Linked DNA regions of Homo sapiens: region 2 is linked to region 1. Evidence: promoter capture Hi-C in 16 types of primary human blood cells and fetal thymus (Javierre and others, 2016). All regions are on one chromosome and are shown on one strand. Each heading gives the region's core, a stretch centred on a gene start or on the middle of the fragment in contact. The rest is flanking DNA. Distances are from core to core; before and after follow the strand shown. Region 1 holds the start of NDUFAF4 (NADH:ubiquinone oxidoreductase complex assembly factor 4). Region 2 holds the start of CCNC (cyclin C).

The links. The method cuts DNA at HindIII sites, captures the fragments that hold promoters and counts their contacts. A CHiCAGO score of 5 or more calls a contact.
Region 2: the fragment with the promoter of CCNC here is called in contact with the fragment with the promoter of NDUFAF4 in region 1 in 2 of 17 cell types (non-activated CD4 T cells and fetal thymus); the score reaches 7.4 in non-activated CD4 T cells.

The regions. Positions count from the first base shown.
Region 1 is chr6:96,895,754-96,900,919 of GRCh38, forward strand. It overlaps NDUFAF4 (NADH:ubiquinone oxidoreductase complex assembly factor 4), which reads right to left and starts at 2,138. Exons shown (of 3, transcript NM_014165.4): 1 at 1,913-2,138; 2 at 991-1,094. The coding sequence starts at 2,048. It also overlaps a transcript of KLHL32 not described here. RefSeq lists an enhancer at 1,961-2,060. The HindIII fragment of the contact is 8,617 bases long and covers 1-4,112 here.
Region 2 is chr6:99,566,393-99,571,558 of GRCh38, forward strand. CCNC (cyclin C) reads right to left here and starts at 2,268. Exons shown (of 12, transcript NM_005190.4): 1 at 2,104-2,268. The coding sequence starts at 2,135. It also overlaps the pseudogene TSTD3. RefSeq lists enhancers at 1,966-2,045, 2,166-2,455, 2,576-2,625. The HindIII fragment of the contact is 11,578 bases long and covers 1,065-5,166 here.

The DNA.
Region 1 (5,166 bases), core at 888-3,387:
ATTACTATGTGCAGCGATTAACAAATCTTGTTTTATTTCTCCTCTGTAGTGAAAATTATATTAATAATTCTATCTGTGCAAATATCCAGAGAGAGAGGGACAGTACCAGAATATTTTAGAATGAAAAAAAAAATCTGGAAGTTGTTGGCACTTCCTTGGCCTTTAATCAAACTTTACCCCTAACTAGAATCTTCCTGCCCCCAAAAACTCATCTGGTTAACTCCAACTGATCCCTCCTCAGGCCTGAACATAACTATCACTTCCTCAGAAACCATCCTTGATCCTCCCATTTCAAAGAGGTCCCTCCAATATACTCAGCAGTGCACGTACTTTTCCCATAATTATGGTCACATTGTTGCTCATTTGTTTAATGGCTGTGTCCTTCACAACATCATAGGCCCTGTGAAAATAAGGACTAGTTTTGTTCATCACTATATACAAAGCACTTGTGCCCAGGACTTACATAATACAGAATATGGATTTACACATAGGTTCCCATTCCTAATGTATTCTTTGATCCTTCTAATTTTAAATATCCTATCTGAATACATCCTTAAAAAAACAAACAGGAACACCCCACAAAATCCAACAACACCACTTACTAAAGGAGTCTCTGAGATTAGAACATACCTCAATCCACAGAAGAATGAGAAAATAATATTAAAGCTCTGCTTTTGTCACTCAAATGACAACCACTGGAAGTAATGCCTTACCAAATCCTACAAATTCTGAAATACTATGAAATAATTCACACAGTTGCTTGTATCAATACTTCCACAAGTTATTTTAGAATTCTGGTAAATATCCAGTGAACCAAGGCATAAGTGTCTTGCTGTCTTACACCAGTGTGCTTAAACTTTGCCAAGGCGTGTAGATTGATCACAACACACACTTGCAGAGCACTCTTTTTACTACTTGCCACACTTAATCATTTTCCTGAAGCCCCAAAATAAGTAAATTGTGTATTCACTTAATTAAACACACATTTACCTGCAAGGAAGACACAGGATCTTTGGAATCAACATACACATCTTTTAGAAACGACAGCAGCTTTTCATCTTTACGAGCAATCTCTCCTTTAACTTCTGGATAGACTAAGGAAAGGAAAAAAGTCACAATATTAAAATCAAGGAAAATTTCCTGTAATATCCTAAACGCTTAACACAAACGCTTTCTTTTATTTTCTTTTTTGAGTCGGAGTCTCGCTCTGTTGCCCAGACTGGAGTGCAGTCGCGCGATCTCGGCTCCCTGCAACCTCCGCCTCCCGGGTTCGAGAGATTCTCCCACCTCAGCCTCCCGACAAGCTGAGGCTACAGGCGCGCCACCACGCCCGGCTAATTTTTGCATTGTTTGTAGAGACGGGGTTTAGCCATGTTGGCCAGGCTGGTCTCGAACTCCTGACCTCAGGTGATCTGCCCGCCTCGGCCTCCCAAAGTGCTGAGATTACAGGCTTGAGCTACCGCGCCCGGCCTAACCACTTTAATTTTTTTAAAAAATAAACATAATCATTTGGACTGTTAGGAAAATACTTTAGATGGAAATCAAAATTCCAGGTCAGGCTCTGCGTCCATCGTCCAGTGAAGACCCCTAGAGAAAGCTCTGTGACCCTCTCGGATTTTGATTCCCTGTATCAAGTCCGTGACAGCAGCCGGCGAGGGCCTGGTTAGCGGGAGCACTGGCTGCTGCCTCTGGGTCTCGGAAGTAGGCGGGGCCGCCGACCTCACCGCGGGCGCGGAGGACAGTCTCAATGTCACCGGCCTGGCGGCTCCCCCTTCCAACGCTCCGCCAACCCGAGCGGCTGCGGCCGAGCAGGCTGACGCCGATCCCTCGGCCTCCGGACCCACGCTAGGGACAGCCGGGCAGCACAGGGACTCCGCGCCCCCGGGCCCCGAAACGCCCTCGCACCACTCACGACTAATCTGCTCTCGCAGGAGGCTGTTGGTAGAGGGGTGTCTGGGAGCGACAGAGGGCTTCATCTTGCTGATTTCCCGTTCCGCTCGGTTCTCTAGGTTGAAATTCCTGATACCGCGAATCACTAGTGCTCCCATCTCCTCATAACATTATGCGCTCAGGTTCAGGCCGCACGTGGGAACACCGGCGCAGGACAACTCCGGGACACCCGGAGCATGCGCACAAGTGAGGGGAAGCCCCGCCGCGGGCGCTTAAATGCGTGCCCGTCGCCCCCTAGCGCTCGGGAGGCCACACACCGCTTCTCTGCCCAGGGCATTTAAAAGGGAGCCCCTCCCTTCGGGGCGAGTGACGGCTCCCACGAGGGCCGCTTCCGGCGGGAGGTGGCGGGGCTTAAGTCCCCAGACCCACGGTTGCTTTTAACGCTGGAACTCCGAGGGAGTCACCCGGGAAGCTCTGTAAAGTTCTGTGCCGGGCCCTACCCCAGACTTTCTGATTTAATTCTTGTGGAGTGAGGCCCAGCATTGGATAAGACTCCACGTGATTCCAAAGTTTCAGTGAAGAGCTGAAAATCAAAGTCGTAAGGAAGTTGACCTTGAAGTTGTTTCACAGGGCAATGCCACCAAAGAGTTAGCCGATAAAAATGGAACTTACTGAACCAGGGTCAAACTGGGCTCTCAAGTTGCCCTTTCCTGCTTTTGTGAAAGGAAAATAATGAAAGGATGTTCCCTTTCGATGAGTATTTGTTCTCAGCCGCTCTCATTTAAATGCCTCTTATTTTCCTGTCCCCCCGCCTGATGCATTTTCAAGCCACTGTATTCTTTTTCCATTATTTTTTACATCCCGTTCTCATTTGACCTAATGGTATCGATTTTAGTTATACTTTCCCTTATCTTATTTTTGCTACTAATTTACTTCTCCATGCTACTAAATGCTGAGTCATTCCCTCTCCTATTTCTCTTCTCTCTTGCCTTCTTCATTCTTTTTAAGCCTCTGTGTAATTTAATGAAAGGAACAGACAATAAGACGTCAGAAAAAAAAAACAAACAAACAAAAAAACGAGTGTTACATTCACCTTCTCCGTCTCTCTCCATTTCCTGAATGGGTTACTGTAGTGCTGCTTTTATTTAAGACCCTTTAGAAATATTGTTATTAATCTAAAATAAAACCCACCAGGAAGGAAGCAGTAGGAAGGAAGTTACAGTATTTCTCTTACTGTGGCTGCAAAATCTATTTTTAGTGTTCTGATCTCTGCTTAGCAAAATGAAGTAGAGTGGATGTTTTTAACCAGCTTAAAGTAAGAAAATATTGATGTAAAGATAATCGAATAGAATAATAATAATAAAACAAGAATCAAAGAACCAAAATGAAGAAAGGGAAAGTTTTTTAAAAAGAAAACTAATGTAATCATTAAGTATAATGCTTAATCAGAGCAAAAGCACTGCAAGGAAGACGGCTTCAGCCACTCTAATTTAAATGCCCTTTATTTAATTATACTGAACATTTTTACAGGGATTGGTATTTGGAATTTATAGAAGCTGAAATCAGTGATCTCAGATAGCATTAACTGGGAAGTTATCCTGAAGGTGGCAGGCTGCTCCAAGATTTCTATCTTTGATACTTTTAAGCATGCTTGTGATTCAGGGCTTTTTAGGCACGGTATTTCTATTTCTATGGGTGCTAAGAAATTTTAATCTGCCTCATTATGTCTATGTGCTTTAATCATGGTAGCAATTCGACTCACTGCCTGTTAAAATATTTTAAAAGTGAAAATCTCATTTTCATAGAAATTCCACCGAACTTCGGGCAGTATGAAAAAGTAATGTTAGAAGTGACTGTCAGGACAGTAGGGATTACAATATGAAATAATTATTTGAATTCACACATTCCAATAGAGCTTGGATTCAACATTGAAAGAGCTTCCAGCATGTGTCAGCTGCTTTGCCTGATCCTGGCCCAGTGCTGCTCAGGCCCTCAAATTGCAAAACAGAAGGCAGATGCACTCCATCAGAAACTCACAATTGGCTGTCACCCTTTGGGAATCATGGAAATAAAACCTGAACCATAAATGCATAATTCCAGCTCTTCTTGTCAAAACATATAAATTAACAGGAACTCTGAACTTAAGAACTCCTGTTGGGCTTATGTTAAGGATTGAAGTCAGATCCCCAAGGAAAGTATAACTAGGATGCTGCTTAGAATGAAGCTTCCATCTGAGTGGAGTATTATGATGCATGTGTATGGCTGAATATCTTAAGATACTAATAAACCCAGGGTCTTGACAACACACTAGAATGTAAATTCTGAGGACAGAACTTTGTCTGTTTTGTTCACTGTTCAACACATTGAACAGCTAGTACACAGTAGGTACTAAACAATTATCAAATAAAGGTCAAATGAACTGAAAGACAAGTAGGATCCCTGAGCTGGAGTCCAGACCCCAGACAAGTTCTCTCTGCCTGAACACTAGCCCTGCTTCCAGAAGTGAGTCCTTATGCAAGTAACTTAATGTGGTTGAACACACTTTGCTCATCTTAAAATTGGGATAATAGTAATCACCTAAGGGGTTTTACACAGATTAAAAATATGTGTCTAGTACAATGCCCAGCTCAGAATCTGATGTTCAATATTTGCATTGTTTTTCATTTTTCAGAGGAGAAGGGAGCAGTTTTAAAAAGGACACATATTCTGAAGCTCTGGTGAATAGGTGAATGAAAGTGATAAAAAAATTTGAGATTACGGTAAGACTCATGTTCTTCAATAATTTAATTTTTAAAAAATAAAAAATGCTAAATTTGATTTTTATTTGCTGATTAACGTGCTCAGCACACGTGGTGGTATTGTTAGATTTATTAAGGTTGGAATATGGGTGGGAATCATTAGTTCTCGGGCATAAAATGCCACCTGCCTGTGCCTGACATTGGCCACAGAAATAGTCCCCACTTTGTTTCCCTCTGCCCTCATGTCTTTCTCTCTGCCTAGACTTTTACCATTGGGTACTCCTTCTTTTGAACATAATTCAACAGCATTCTGCGTTCTCCAAAGGATTACAGTAGCTAAACCCAGGTGACAGTTGGCTCAAGGGGCCCAGGACAGCCCTCAGAGGTTTCATCAATCAAATCTCAACCACTAGTGAGGAGCACAACAGATTTATGGAGGAATGACTTATTCTGGCAGAGGTTCTGGTGTTCAGGCAGAGAGAACCTCTCCAGGGCCTGGATTCCAGATTAGAAACCAGAGAATTTGTAGGAGTCCAAC
Region 2 (5,166 bases), core at 1,018-3,517, 2.7 Mb after region 1:
ATATATGGTACTATTATGATGTTATTTTCTAGATAGTAAGTAACTGTATTTTCAGTTTCCTGTGGATACCAATAAAGTATCCACAGTTAGTTTTGTAGTTTTTATTTTTGTTACTTGTTCATTAATGCATTCAATTAACCAGCAAATACTTAGTGCCCTTCTAGTTCATTTTGGTCACAGACTGTGTTTTGTTCTACCTCAACTACACTGTGGTTTGCTAATTAATTTCATCCCCACAGAGTCATTTTATGTTTTTAAAAAGATAAATTTCACAAACATTTTATGAGTTTTCCTCACAGAACTCTGTATGGAGAATAAACTAAAAAACTTTATAAATACTGCATTTCATCAAATTTAAGATTACATCTAGGATTCATCATTATTTCATATGCTATGAAAGCAACTGCCATGCTGATTTCAAAGATGTTAAAGTGTGAAAACGTGCATCTTAGAAGCATGAAATATAGCATATTTAATATCAATTGCCCTCTTTCACCAAATTCACCTAAGACAATGGCCTTTCATAATCTTTTCGTTTGTTTTTCCAGAATTGTCTTGTCTTCCACACTCGTTACCTTTTCCAGATAAGAAACTCCATGACTGCTCAAGGGATTTGAGCAAGGCAAAGTGGTCCCTTCTTTTAGGACTATTTGAATTGGGAGAAAAGAATAGTTTCAAAGAAGTACACTTAACTTTATAATAATTTTATATTTGAAAAGTGAAAACATATTTTTAGAATGCTATGAATAAATGAAAGCATAATGAGAACACTATTGAAAATAAGGCAGGATCTTTTTTTTTTAAGTTGAAAAACTGAAAAATCAACAGTCAGCTACTTGTCAATTCTCTCAGCTTCTTTCAGAGTTTATCAGAATATCTCTTCTCCACTACCTAAACTTTTTTTTTCAGGAGCTCTAACTCCAATACCTAAACTTTCGATACTTTAATTTTGCCCAAGCAATATTTCAGTGTGTGAAAACAATGCAACATATATACACACACATATATATATACATACACACACACACATATATATACACACACACACATATGATCAGTGGTAAAGCTTCTTTAACATGTCATCTCCACAGAATCACTTTATAGCAAGAGGAAAACCTGCTTTTCCTTAAATAGGTTACTGAGTTCATTGTTTCTTTTTTTCTCTTTGCAAAGGGCTAAAAAATGAACATCAGGAACAGATCCTATTCACAGAATCGAAATTTAAATTACTTACTAATGCTTTCTTAGCATAAAAAATTATACCAAGATACCTTGTCAAATTCTGTTCATCTTTCAACTATACAGTGGAAAGCCTACTCAAATGTTCAATTTACCCCATAACGCACCTTCCTGCCTGCTTAAACAAATGTATTTAGGGATAAATGTTTTTAATATTATTCTAGCTCTCACATGGTCACTGACAGAAACAAGAACTTATTCATGAAAAAGGTTAAAGAAACAGGTAAACAAAGTCACTGGAAAAATAGGCCTTTAAAACAAAATATAAAGCACAGGCTAATGAAATGGATAAATTTAGAGGGCACCTGCCCTATACCTTATCAATATAAAACTCCATCTAGACATAAAGTACGCGCAAGAAGCGGTTAGTAGGCAGAAACAAGCCAGACTCTCTCCTCTCCTCATAATATTAAATCCACTCAAGATATACAGTGAATGACAAAAGACCACGACGCCGATCACCCGAAGAAACCCCAGGTAAAAGCACGCCACAACTGTCCTGAACAGGTAGCCTCACAGTCTTGAGCTGAGTCACACTTCCCGTACCTGTGCCCACTCTATCCGACCCCCCGCGGCCTAGCTAAACCAAGAATCCGAAATTAAACTCCGAAACGTTCCTTCCCGGGAGACGAAACTCTCTCCCACCCCTCCCCCTCACAGATCCTTCCCTCCCCGAAACTGGGGCTGGGGGCGGGGAGGGGAGTCGCCTCAGAAAAGCGCATCTTGATTCTGACCGCTGCGGTCTCCCGTGAGGACCCCGGCACTCGGAACTGAGCTGGGATCCAGGCCCAGGGGAGTCACAGGCCCCGTCCTCACAGCTCCCCCAAAAACCGGCCCCAGGTGAGAAGACGGAAGATCGCTTACTAGTGGGAGCTCTGCCAAAAGTTCCCTGCCATGGAACACAGCTTGCCCTGATAAAAAAGCACCAGCCGGCGGAGCGGCCCGCGGAGCGACCATAGACCCAGCCCGTCCGGTAACCGCGCTCCTCGATCAAATCAGCTCGGCTCGACTCCGCTCCGCGGCGGCGACGGCGAAAGGAAGAGGATGGCCCCCTAGTCTCCTTCACGCCGGCCGACAACACTCAACTGTGCAAACCCGTTCCTATCGACAAAAGTTCCGGCCCGCGGTAGCGGAGGGAGCCGGAGGGGAGGTGCTGACCCTTGGAGGTGCTGAGATTGAAGAGAACTAGTGTTCACGAGAGCTCGCGGCGGTTGGAAGGCTCTCGCGAGAGCGTCTTGAGAATTCTGGCCGGGGGCCCAAGCCGCTCGGTCTCCTGTCTTCAGCACGGGAGTTGCTGAGTGGGTCTAACCTAGGCGAAGTGGCTCAGATACGGGGTTCTGTTATTACCTCTTCCAGGACTTCAAAAACAGAACAATGTGGCATTGTAATAAAGTACAAGGTTTTGTGACTTATTTTTCCTGTGATTGGAAAGAGAAATAAATGAAGATGACTTTGTTCTCAGGGATCAAGTGTTCCTTTTTTTTTTTTACTTTATTTATTTATTTATTTTGAGACGGAGTCTTGCTCTGTCTCCAGGCTGGAGTGCAGTGGCACGATCCCGGCTCACTGCAAGCTCCGCCTCCAGGAGTTCAAGCGATTCTCCTGCCTCAGCCTCCCGAGTAGCTGGGACTGCAGGCGCGCACCACCATGCCCAGCTAATTTTTGTATTTTTAGTAGAGATAGGGTTTCACCATGTTGGCCAGGATAGTCTCAAACTCCTGACCTCGTGATCCGCCCTCCTCAACCTCCCAAAGTGCTGGGATTACAGGCGTAAGCCACCGCACCCTGCCTGTTTTTTACTTTTGAGACGGAGTCTGGGTCTGTCACCCAGGATGGAATGCAGTGGCACAATCTCGGCTCACAGCAACCTCTGCCTTTCCAGTTCAAATGATTCTGCTGCCTCAGCCTCCCAGGTAGCTGGGATTACAGGGATTACAGGCGCGTGCCACCACGTCCATCTAATCTTTGTATTTTTAGTGGAGAGGGGATTTCGCTAGGCTGGTCTGGAACTCCTAACCTCAGGTGATCCGTCAGCCTCAGCCTCCCAAAATGCTGGGATTAACAGGCGTGGGCTACCAGGCCCGGCCTGGATCAGGCGGTTTTTTTTTTTTTTTTTTTTTGAGACGGAGTCTTGCTCTGTCGCCCAGGTTGGAGTGCAGTGGCGCTATCTAGGCTCATTGCAACCTCTGCCTCCCAGGTTCAAGCGATTCTCCTGCCTCAGCCTCCCAAGTAGCTGGGACTACAGGCTCACACCACCACGCCCAGCTAATTTTTGTATTTTTAGTAGAGACAGGGTTTCACCATGTTGGCCAGGATGGTCTCCATTTCCTGACCTCGTGATCCGCCCACCTCGGCCTCCCAAAGTGCTGGGATTACAGGCGTGAGCAACCGCGCCCGGCCGCGATCTTTTTTTTTTTTTTTTTTGAGACGGAGTCTCGCTCTGTCGCCCAGGCTGGAGTGCAGTGGCGAGATCTCGGCCGCGATCTTAATGGAGTTATTTTGGAGTGATAAAGTGCAAACTTACAGAGCAGCGGAATCAACAGTTTTGCAGAACATCTAAAAATATTCATGCATATATGTATGCACATGTATGTACATGTATGCACCTAATAGAAACATACTGCAAAAAAAGCCATAATTTAATTTTACAAGACGAAATATTTTGTATTTTCCATTTCATTTTCATTGTAGCAATGCATTTATTGTAAAACTTATAATTATTTTTCTAAATAATTGGACACTCCAGAAACTTGTTTATAGACAGTCAGCATCTGAGGCAACTTAAGACAGTATTTTTCACATTGTAGGTGGAGACCAATTAGGGTGTGGTAAAATTAAGTATAATCATTTTCCTAAATAGAACAGAAAATACTAGGTAAATCAGAAATAGCAAGGATATTATATTTAAATTTGGTTCAGTTATATATGTGTGTATATACATACACAAACACACATATACACACACAGTCAAGATGTGAAATGCATTTGTTTGTATGTGAGAATTAGTCTGCATCAGGTGTGGTGGCTCACGCCTGTAATCCCAGCACTTTGGGATGCCGAAATGGGCGGATCACTTGAGGTCAGGAGTTTGAGACCAGCCTAGCCAACATGGTGAAACCCTGTCTCTACTAAAAATACAAAAATTAGCGGAGTGTGGTGGCGTGCACCCGTAGTCCCAGCTACTCGGGAGGCTGCAGCACAAGAATCGCTTGAACCCAGGAGGCAGAGGTTGCGGTGGGCAGAGATTGTGCCACTGCACTCCAGCCTGGACAACAGAGTGAGACTCCAAATCCAAAAAGAAAAAGAAAAAAGAATGAATTAGTCTGGATAAGCTACACTAGGTGAAATTGTGGTAACACCTCCCCACCCCCACCCCTAATCAGCATAGCTTAACATCAAAGTATTTTACATGTCATACGTCACTCCCATAAAGTCCCATAAAGTCGGCTTGCTCTCCTTGGTGGTTGTCTTCCAGATTTTCAAGAATGTAATATTTATATATCCTTCAATTACTCCATCTTGATGGTCTTTACTTCTAGGTTTAAAATCTTTCTAGAGAGAGCACAGAGGACTCATACTAACTCTTACCCAGGGTTAAGAGCCTTGAAACAGAAACAACCCAATCACTTTCTCTCATGGGCCATTGACCAGAATAGACACATGCCTCCAATTTTTAACTGTGAAGAAAGCTGAGGCCAGGCACGGTGGCTCACGCCTGTACTCCCAGCACTTTGGGAGGCCAAGACAGGCAGATCACGAGGTCAGGAGATCAGACCATCATGGCCAGCATGGTGAAACCCCGTCTCCACTAAAATACAAAAATTAGCCGGGCATGGTGGCGCATGCGTGTGATCCTAGCTACTTGGGAGGCTCAGGCAGGAGAATCGCTTGAACCTGGGAGGCGGAGGTTGCAGTGAGCCAAGATCG